Regions from separate parts of the Homo sapiens genome. Here region 1 is linked to region 2. Evidence: promoter capture Hi-C in 16 types of primary human blood cells and fetal thymus (Javierre and others, 2016). All regions are on one chromosome and are shown on one strand. The core of a region is centred on a gene start or on the middle of the fragment in contact, and the rest is flanking DNA. Distances in the headings are between cores, read along the strand shown. Region 1 overlaps LOC101929918 (a long non-coding RNA gene). Region 2 holds the start of HIPK3 (homeodomain interacting protein kinase 3).

The links. Contacts are between HindIII fragments. The CHiCAGO score rates a contact against its expected background, and 5 or more counts as called.
Region 1: a contact is called between a fragment that was not itself captured here and the fragment with the promoter of HIPK3 in region 2, in 1 of 17 cell types (monocytes). The highest score is 5.2, in monocytes.

Annotation. Positions count from the first base shown.
Region 1 is chr11:34,045,628-34,050,330 of GRCh38, forward strand. The region is part of intron 2 of LOC101929918 (a long non-coding RNA gene); the gene reads right to left. Among named protein-coding and RNA genes, the nearest start is that of CAPRIN1, 3.8 kb to the right of the region's middle. The HindIII fragment of the contact is 2,816 bases long and covers 1-2,681 here.
Region 2 is chr11:33,254,334-33,258,987 of GRCh38, forward strand. HIPK3 (homeodomain interacting protein kinase 3) reads left to right here and starts at 3,048. Exons shown (of 17, transcript NM_005734.5): 1 at 3,048-3,556. RefSeq lists silencers at 2,803-3,132, 3,393-3,732, 3,803-4,002 and enhancers at 4,343-4,392, 4,433-4,522. The HindIII fragment of the contact is 4,438 bases long and covers 2,274-4,654 here.

The DNA of each region.
Region 1 (4,703 bases), core at 24-2,523, 790 kb after region 2:
TGGTGGTCCTTGCCTACTTTGGGAAGCACTGCATCAAAGACGAGAATTGGGGTGTGGGGGGTAGGGCTCTCTCCTTTGCAAATTCTACATCCACTGAAAATCTATGCAAGAAAAAAACAAACACAGGACCTACATCTTCTCATGACATTTTTCACATCTCTAGTGATTTGGTGCTTAGGAGACCTTTAAATCAAGTTCTCAGGCTCTCAAGATAAACAAGTTATCAACACACAAAGAGTAAACCATTAATATAGGGGGAGTTGTGCTGTTAGGTGTGAAAATTATTCTTGAAATAATACTATCCTGACCAGCTATAGGAACAATCTTGAATAAGCTGATTACTTCTATACTTATATTCCCCTAGTATGTATTAACTGAGATACATAAAGTTTTATTCCTTCCAAAATTCATGGAGCAGTTAGTTGTTACCTTGAAGGAAGTTATTTTTCTCAAATTATTGTTCACAGTGGTTGTATGTATTAGTAGGGGAATTGATACACAGAATACTTTATTGCCTGAAATGACCATGATTATTCATATTGCCAAGATGCAAGATCACCCTACGAACAGATCAGCTTGCATCTTGGCAACATGCATAATGCAGTTAGTTCTCTTTTTTTTCTTTTCCTTCCTTCCTTCCTTCCTTCCTTCCTTCCTTCCTTCCTTCCTTCCTGTCTCTCTCCCCCCTCCACGCTCCCCCCTTTTTCTCTTTCTTTCTTTCTCTTTCTCTCTCTCTCTCTCCCCCACCCGCGCCCCACCCCCCTTCTTTCTTTCTTCCTTTTTTTTTTTTTTTTTTTTGAGACAGAGTCTTGCTCTGTTGCCCAGGCTGGAGTGCAGTGCCGTGATCTCAGCTCACTGCAACCTCCGCTTCCTGGGTTCAAGTGATTCTCCTGCCTCAGCCTCCTGAGTAGCTAGGATTACAGGCATGCACCACCATACCCGCCTAATTTTTACATTTTTTTTAGTAGAGACGGGGTTTCGCCACGTTAGCCAGACTGGTCTCAAACTCCTGACCTCAGGTGATCCACCCACCTTAGCCTCCCAAAGTGCTGGGATTACAGGCGTGAGCCACCTCAATAAGGCATTTCTAAAGGCATTTTTAATTTGGGGCGCCAGTGTCATCAGAGTAGCTTTACTTGTAAAGTGCTAGAACAAGTGACTACTTTTTTGTTTTGTTTTTTGAGATAGAGTCTTGCCCTGTCACCCAGGCTGGAGTGCAGTGGCGCAATCTTGGTTCACTGCAACCTCTGCCTCCCAGGTTCAAGTGATTCTCCTTCCTCAGCCTCCTGAGTAGCTGGGATTACAGGCACCCGCCACCATGCCCGGCTAATTTTTGTATTTTTAGTAGAAACAGGGTTTCACCATGTTGGCCAGGCTGGTCTCGAACTCCTGACCTTGGGTGATCCGTCTGCCTTGGCCTCCCAAAGTGCTGGAATTACAAGCATGAGCCACCGTGCCTGGCCAGTGACTACATCTTTTATCTCATAAAATAGAACAGCATTTCCCAAACTCGGCATTATTGATGTTTTGGTCTGAATAATTGTGTGTTGTTTTGTGCATTGTAAGATGTTTAGAAGCATCTTTGGCCTCTACAAACTGGATGCAATTAACATCTTCCCCTCAAGTTGTGACAACTAAATACTTCTAGACATTGCTAGTGATTTGGTGCTTAGGAGACCTTTAAATCAAGTGTCCCCGAGGGACAAAATCACCACAGGTTGGGAACCACTGAAATAGAAACATGATGTTAAGACAACATACAATTCATATAAGTAACTATATGAAAGATTTTAGTACCTGTGGCCAAGGTGTTTTTGCTTTTAAAACATTTTTATTTTTAGGCTGGGCGCAGTGGCTCAGGCCTGTAATCCCAGCTCTTTGGGAGGCCAAGGCAGGTGGGTTGCCTGAACTCAGGAATTTGAGGCCAGCCTGGCCAACATGGTGAAATCCTGTCTCTACCAAAAATACAAAAATTAGTCGGGCATGATGGCATGCACCTGTAATCCCAGCTACTCGGGAGGCTGAGGCAGGAGAACCACTTGAACCCAGGAGGTAGAGATTGCAATGAGCTGAGATCTTGCCACTGCACTCCAGCCTGGGCGACAGAATGATACTCCATCTCAAAAAAATAAATAAATAAAATAAAATAAAAATAAAATTTTTATTTTTTAGATGCTGGGTTTTACTCTGTTGTCCACGCTGGAGTGTAGTGACATGATATTGCATCCTCGAACTACTGGGCTCAACTAATGCTCTCATTTCAGCCTCCCGAGTAGCTGGGATTTCAAGCACATACCACTGTGTTTACTTTTACATTGAGTAAAGTGTGTAGCTTCTAAGAGTGTTCAATAACAAACAACAGTATTTCGTGAAATCTGAAATAACTATTCTGAACATATTGTACCTCTACAAAACATGAAGTCCTGTTTCTAAGCATAATATTACACGCAAGAAAAGGTGGACATAGGAAAATATAAGCGGAAAAGGATGTTATCTCAGCTGATGACCAAAATGTAAGAATTCAGAGACAGTATGGACCAATAGTAATAATAATATTAAAACCGTACTGATATGTTAATACAGTAGGCAATACTTAGTGACAAAATAGTTGTGCCAGGCATGCTATTGCTTATGAGGATCCAGAGATGGAAAAACAAAACGACTGCTCTTTTTCTTTGAAAAGCTTAGAGTTTAGTGGTGGTTCATGGACACATAGACAATCATTGATTGAATTACAATAAAAAAGACTGTACTGGAAAAATTATGATAGAAATGTCTACTCCTGACTTGTAGTAAAATGATGGAAAAACAAATTTAAGAAACTTTAAGAGCCTTAGCTATGTGAACAGTGTAGTTCACACTTTGGTCAGGTTTCTGTCAACCTGAAACAAAGAGGCAGTTCATATAATTCAGATGAAGATTCCTCTCTTTTGCTACAAATAAGCATTAGCTTATTGGGTGACTCAAGTTCAAGCAGTTGAATTATTTTGCTAAAATGATCAGGATAAATAGTTTAATTATTCACTTTGTGGAAACTTCAAAGTGCTGTGGTCTAATGAATTGAACAAGCAAATGTCAGCTTGAAAGATTTGTTATTGAAATATATTATTTTGCATATTGTTGTATTTGCTTTATGTTAATATATTTAATATTGGCATATATTAAAGTATACCAAGGTTTTTAAATTTATAAACCATTTATAAACATATTCTGCTCCTCCAGTGTGTTTTCTGGGAACCCTTTATTTCTTCAATGATGCAATGACTGCAAGTTACTGCATAGCTCTGTACTAGAAAAAAGGGTTTAAAAAATGAGTATTTAAAATTCACATAAACATAGCTTCAGTCAAGTAGGAAATACACAAATTTGAATGACTGAGACCTTGGCATTGATCTGGGCAGGAAGTGAGCTTTAGGACACAGCTTTGCCTTAAATTTATTGGTCTTTCTGGACTTGCTGACCTGAACAGACAAACGCAGAATGTCAGAACACCAATGAAATGGGATTGGGATGATATAGGAAGTGAAAGCGTGACAGCTTCATATATTCACCAAATATTTCTGGCTCATCTGCTTCCTACCCGGCATCTGATAGAATACCATCTCTTGACTCCCTTATAGTTGGATAGGGTCATGTGACTCTTTTTGGCCAATGAATTTAAGCAGATGTGATGCATATCTACTTGTCTAAAGCATTTAATTGACTGAGATATTCCTGAGTTCTCTTGTGGTACAGTGATCAGCAACACTTGAGATATGGCATCAGCATGAATCTACTGAGTGACTACTACGAACAGGGCCCTCTGTTGAACTGTGATGGATGTGTACCATTTGCAGTTGTTTTTTGTTTTTTGAGACAGTCTCACTCTGTTGCTTAGGCTGGAATGCAGTGGCACAATCTTGGCTCACTGCAGCCTCTGCCTCCCGGGTTCTCGTGCCTCAACCTCCTGAGCAGCTGTAATTACAGGCATGCGCCACCACACCCAGCAAATTTTTTTGTATTTTTAGTAGAGACAGGATTTGCCATATTGGCCAGGCTGGTCTCGAACTCCTGACCTCAAGTGATCTGCCAGCCTTGGCTTCCCAAAGTGTTGGAATTACAGGCATGAGCCCCTTCACCTGGCCCCTTTGTAGTTTTAAACCAGGGATTGGCAAACACTTTTTTTGTAAAAGAAGAGATAGTATTCTAGGTTTTGCACACCCTACTGTCTGTTGCACACCCAAGTACTCAACTCTGCTGTGCTATGGCAGAGAGGCAGTCATAGAATGGATGTGCATAGATGGATTGGATGTCTCCCAATAAAACTTTAGACATTGGTCAATTCCGAGGAACAAAACAGTGATTTCTGAAACTTTAATGTACACACAAATCTCCTGAAGATCTTGTTAAAATGTAGATTCAGTTAAGTCTGCTATGCAGTCCAAGATAGTAGTGATAGTGGTAGTGAGAGAGGTTGGGCTGAATAAACTTTGAGTTGCAAGGAGCTAAAGGATTATCATCTCCGTTTCTAGCCTCTAGGCCTGGCATAATTGCTCAGCGTAGTGCTAAGGATGGTTTAGGTGACTAAATTTTGAAACTATGACTCCCCATCTAATGCAGCAAAAGCCAAAGTCCTTACCGTGGTCTTTCAGGCCCTACAAGACCAGCCCCCTTTAATATGTTTGACCTCATCTCCTACTCTCTGCTCTTGCCACTATGGTTTC
Region 2 (4,654 bases), core at 1,798-4,297:
CTGCATTTTTGAGAGATCTTAGCACTATGAGAAATTTTCCTTAAAAAAAAAAAACAACCCTCAAACTTTGTAAAATAGCTACATTAGGGGCTTTGGGAGATTATCTAGATGTTTGTGTTCAGAATAGATTTGAAAGCCAGGCGCAGTGGCTCACACCTGAAATCCCAGCACTTTTGGGAGGCTGAGGTGGGCGGATCACTTGAGGCCAGGAGTTCCAGACCAGTCTGGCCAACATAATGAAACCGCATCTCCATACTAAAAATAAAAAAAAAATAGCTGGCTGTGGTGGTGCGTGTCTGTAATCCCAGTTAGGTGGGAGGCTGAGGTGGATGGATCCCTTGAGCCCAGGGAGTTGAGGCTGTGGTGAATGGAGATCACACCACTGTGCTCCAGCCTGGGTGACAAAATTAGACTCTGTCAGGTCAGGAGATCAAGACCATCCTGGCTAACATGGTGAAACCCCATCTCTACTACAAATACAAAAAATTAGCTGGGCGTGGTGGCACGGGCCTGTAGTCCCAGCTACTTGGGAGGCTGAGGCAGGAGAATCGCCTGAACCTGGGAGGCGGAAGTTGCAGTCCCAGCTACTTGGGAGGCTGAGGCAGGAGAATCGCCTGAACCTGGGAGGCAGAGGAGCTGATATCGTGCCTCAAAAAAAGAAAGATTTGAAGGGGAAGAGATTAGAGGTAAAGAAATTAGGTTAGGAGACAATAGGTATAAAGTGAAGGGGGGCTGGAATATATCATTTACTTATTTTGCAACATTTACTAAGGTCTTACCACAAGTCAGGCACTGTATTAGGCACTTGCAATATAATGGTTAAAAAAAAAGATGAGGCCGGGCGTGGTGGCTCATGCCTGTAATCCCAACACTTTGGGAGGCTGAGGTGGACAGAGCACGAGGTCAAGGGATCGAGACCATCCTGGCCAACATGGTAAAACCCCGTCTCTGCTAAAAGTACAAAAATTAGCTGGGTATGGTGGGGCATGCCTGTAGTCTCAGCTATTCGGGAGGCTGAAGCAGGAGAATTGCTTGAACCCTGGCAATAGAGCGAGACTTCATCTAAAAAAAAAAAAAGATGAATGAATCCCCTCCTGGAATATATAGTGTAGTGAGTAGCAACATGCAGGAGATAGAAAGGAAAATAAATCCTTGTCTCTCATTTCCATCTCTTCATGGATGTAGCAAATACAGGGAATGGAAGCCTTCCATTAGAGATGGCCTCCTTAAATGTCTGCAAAAATTCTGAAATTTGAAGTTCTAGTGGAATAGTTTCTCTGTTCCTCCTGACAGATTTTTCTACTATTGTAGCTTTCTCCGTTGAGTAAATGATTTTATCCTCTTTGATTCTTTTGACTATTGTTCTTAAGAAAAATAAAAAGTAACGAAATACTAAGTGAAAAGGAATGGTTCATAGGCTATCTCTCTGAAAGGCAGCCATTGTTTTGTTCTTCTATATTGGAAGCCTTTTCAGCTGGTTATCCTCTCTAACCTGAAAACAACTGTCATTCGAAAGTGTTATTTCCAGTGGCCTCAGGGCATACTATCCTTTCTCTTTTATTTTATTTTTTGAGACAGAGTCTCTCCCTGTCGCCCAGGTTGGAGTGCAGTGGCTCAAGCGATTCAAGCGATTCTCTTACCTCAGCTCTCGAGTAGCTGGGATTACAGGCGCCCGCCACCACGCCCAGCTAATTTTTGCATTTTTAGTAGAGACCAGGTTTCACTATGTTGGCCAGGCTGGTCTTGAACTCCTGACCACAGGTGATCCACCCGCCTCAGCCTCCCAAAGTGCTGGGATTACATGTGCGAGCCACCGCGCCCGGCCTCCTTTGTCTCTTAAAGGCATTATCCAAAATACTCATCTTCCGGTTTGAAGAGCAGCAGGGATTAAATGTGTATTATGTATGCAGCAATTTGCCACTCCCTTTGCCCTGCCCCAGTTACTGCAATAGAAAATTTCTGGGAATAAATACATCTCTGGTAAATTCAATCTTGCTAGTGAAGATTATGAAGGAAACAAAGAAAGGACACTTCCATTCCAGAAAGGTGTTTGTTTCCCAAAAGGTTAGACATTGATTCAGAACAAAGGGAACCTGAGGAAACGGGTATAAAAGAAAATCAACTCTGAATGTGAGGTATTAGAAAGCCATTTGTTTCCTAGGGAAAAGGAGGAAAGATGGGGTGGGAGACATGGGCTTTACTGTATAACCTTGGTCATGTCACCTAAACTTCTTGGAACTCCTGAGTGTAAGAGTTGGGACCAAGGATCGCAAAGCTTCTTTCATTCCTAAAATTCTATGGTTCCACGATTATGTAAGCTGAAACAGGCCATTCTGTTGATTTCCTAATCTCCAGGAGGAAAGAAACTAGTCTTTGGGAGTTAAACCGACTAATTTAACGGAGAATTACCAATGTGGAGGTGGGCGAACTTCACAATTATGGGGTTTTGGACAGTAGAGATGCTCTTAAAATTTCCAAGAGGACCCTTCCCCCGTCCTTGAACCTGGCTTTACAATTCTCTTCACTCTTTGGGATAGGGGAGCGGGTAGAACCTAGTTTAGATTGAGGTCGTTCATTTGAGCATTTCCCCTTTACTTATTTTGGGACCTTTAACGACCAAATGCCGAGAAACAGATCCTTAATTACGGTTCCGGGATCTCGAAAGGCCTGTAAAATCCTGCTTCCGCATCTTCATCCTTTCTTCGGGTATTGGGATCTTTTTTAAAAATGTGTATTTCTGGCGGAGGGGGCATGGAGTGAGGTTCAGAACAGCAGAGCCGGGCTGACGGATGCTTCTTTCGCGGGAGGCTTGGCTTGCGGGACTCCGGGTTGGGGCCGCACGGGCTGGCAGGCGGGCTCCGGGCAACAAGGGCGCGGCTGCGGACTGGCGGGCGGACCCCGGGGAGGGGCTTCACGGAGGCGCCGCGGCCGGAGCGGAGCGGAGCCGCCCGGGCTGGGCGCGCAGCGCTGCCGGGCGGGCGGTGGCGCTGCGGAGGCGGTGGCCGAGGCCGACGAGCGCGGAGGAGGGGCCCGAGGCTGGGGCGGCTGGTGGCAGCTGCCTCAGTGACGACTGCCGGCATCGCGGCGACCTGAGGAGATCAAGCCGCAGGCCCCGCCGTCGCCACCACTCCCGCCAGTCTTCCTTCTCCGCTCCCGGCCGGGGCGTCAGGAATGGGCCCCAATCGCCGTGGGCCCCGCACCCTGCGTCGCCCGTAGGCCCCAGTAGCCGGAGGCCGACCGGCCTCCCACTACCCCTCGCCCTAGCCAAGCCGTCCCCACCCCAAATCCCCGGGAAGGAAGATGAGGGAGACGGGCCCGGCGCTTAGCAGCCAGAGCAGCAGCAGCAGCAGCAGCGGTCGGGGGAGGGTGTTTCGCCGTTTCCTCTCAGCCGCCAGGACAAGATGGCAGCGGCCGCGGAGAGGGGCTGAGCCCGGGCTGGGTGGTGCCGCCTGCTGAAGCGCCTGGCTCCCGGTCCCCGGCACGGCCCTGCGCCCCACCCCGGACATGCTCAGGGCTGCGGCCGCCCGAAGAGGAGAGAGCGCGGGCCTCTAGGAAGGTAAGGGAGTCGAGCGAGGGGCGCCGCCACCCCGGGGTGGGGGGATCGGCTCCGTCTGCGGGCTCCGCGGCCAGCGGACCCCAAGCCTGACCCGGGCCTGGCCCGACACCTCCGGCGCAGCCCGCACTCATTGCGCGTCCCGTGCCCCATCCGCATCCCCAGCGCTCTCGTGCTCCCAGTTTCCGCCCTAGCCCCTGCAGTGTGGCCCGGTATGAGCCGCTCCCTCGAAGCCGGCGCCACGCCAGGCCCTGGGCCGCCGGACGCGGGGGCCGTAGCCTCCGGGAAGCCGCGCCTGGCCGGGGCCCGGGGGCCTCGGCCCCCCCTCCCCCTGCCAAGGTTGCGCAACGGCTCTTCCCAGCAACCGAAGTTTTGTTTAGTCCCACGGGGAGCCTCTCTTCCCCCTCCGCAGTCCTAGGCCGTAACTACGGAGATCCCTTTCCTTTCATTAAGGGGAACAAACAAACGCGCAGGCACGCAGCTTGAGCACCCCAGCCGATGGCCGCGTCCCGGGCTTTGTGGCCCCGTCCCCAGCGTCGCGGAGCAGCGGGTTTGCAGGGTGTCAACTCTGGGGACGTGCGTGCGTGTGTGTGATTGTTGGGGAGGAGAAATGTGATCCGCGGCTCCGCGTCCCCAGCGGCGGCGGGAGGAAGGCGTGGCGGCCGCGCGGCGGGGCTGTTGCCGGCTTCTCTCGTTACGGTGGCTGCCGCCCGCTTCCCTTCGCCGCACTGGGAGAACTGGCGGAAAGACTTTGGATGAAAATGTCTGTTTCTCTGTCGGGAGGGAGACGGCTGTTGTAAAATGGTATGTGGCTCTCGGGGAATCCTGTTGTTCCCGTCTCATCTCTGCTTGAGGAATTGCGCTGAAGAGTGTGTGCGTAAATTACCTTGGACTTGTTACAGAGTAGTCGTAACACGTTCAGGCCTTGAACCGTGTTTTCACAACCTCTTACTGCCCTGTTAGGGAATTTGTTTTTCCACCTGTCAGTTGGCTGCTTCTAATTATAATAAGGGGCTTCTATTAGCAACAGCAAAAAATTTCAGTTTATCGTCCAGTTTAGAGGGAAAGCGCATGGTTGGCTCTATTGTAAACTTTGTTTTG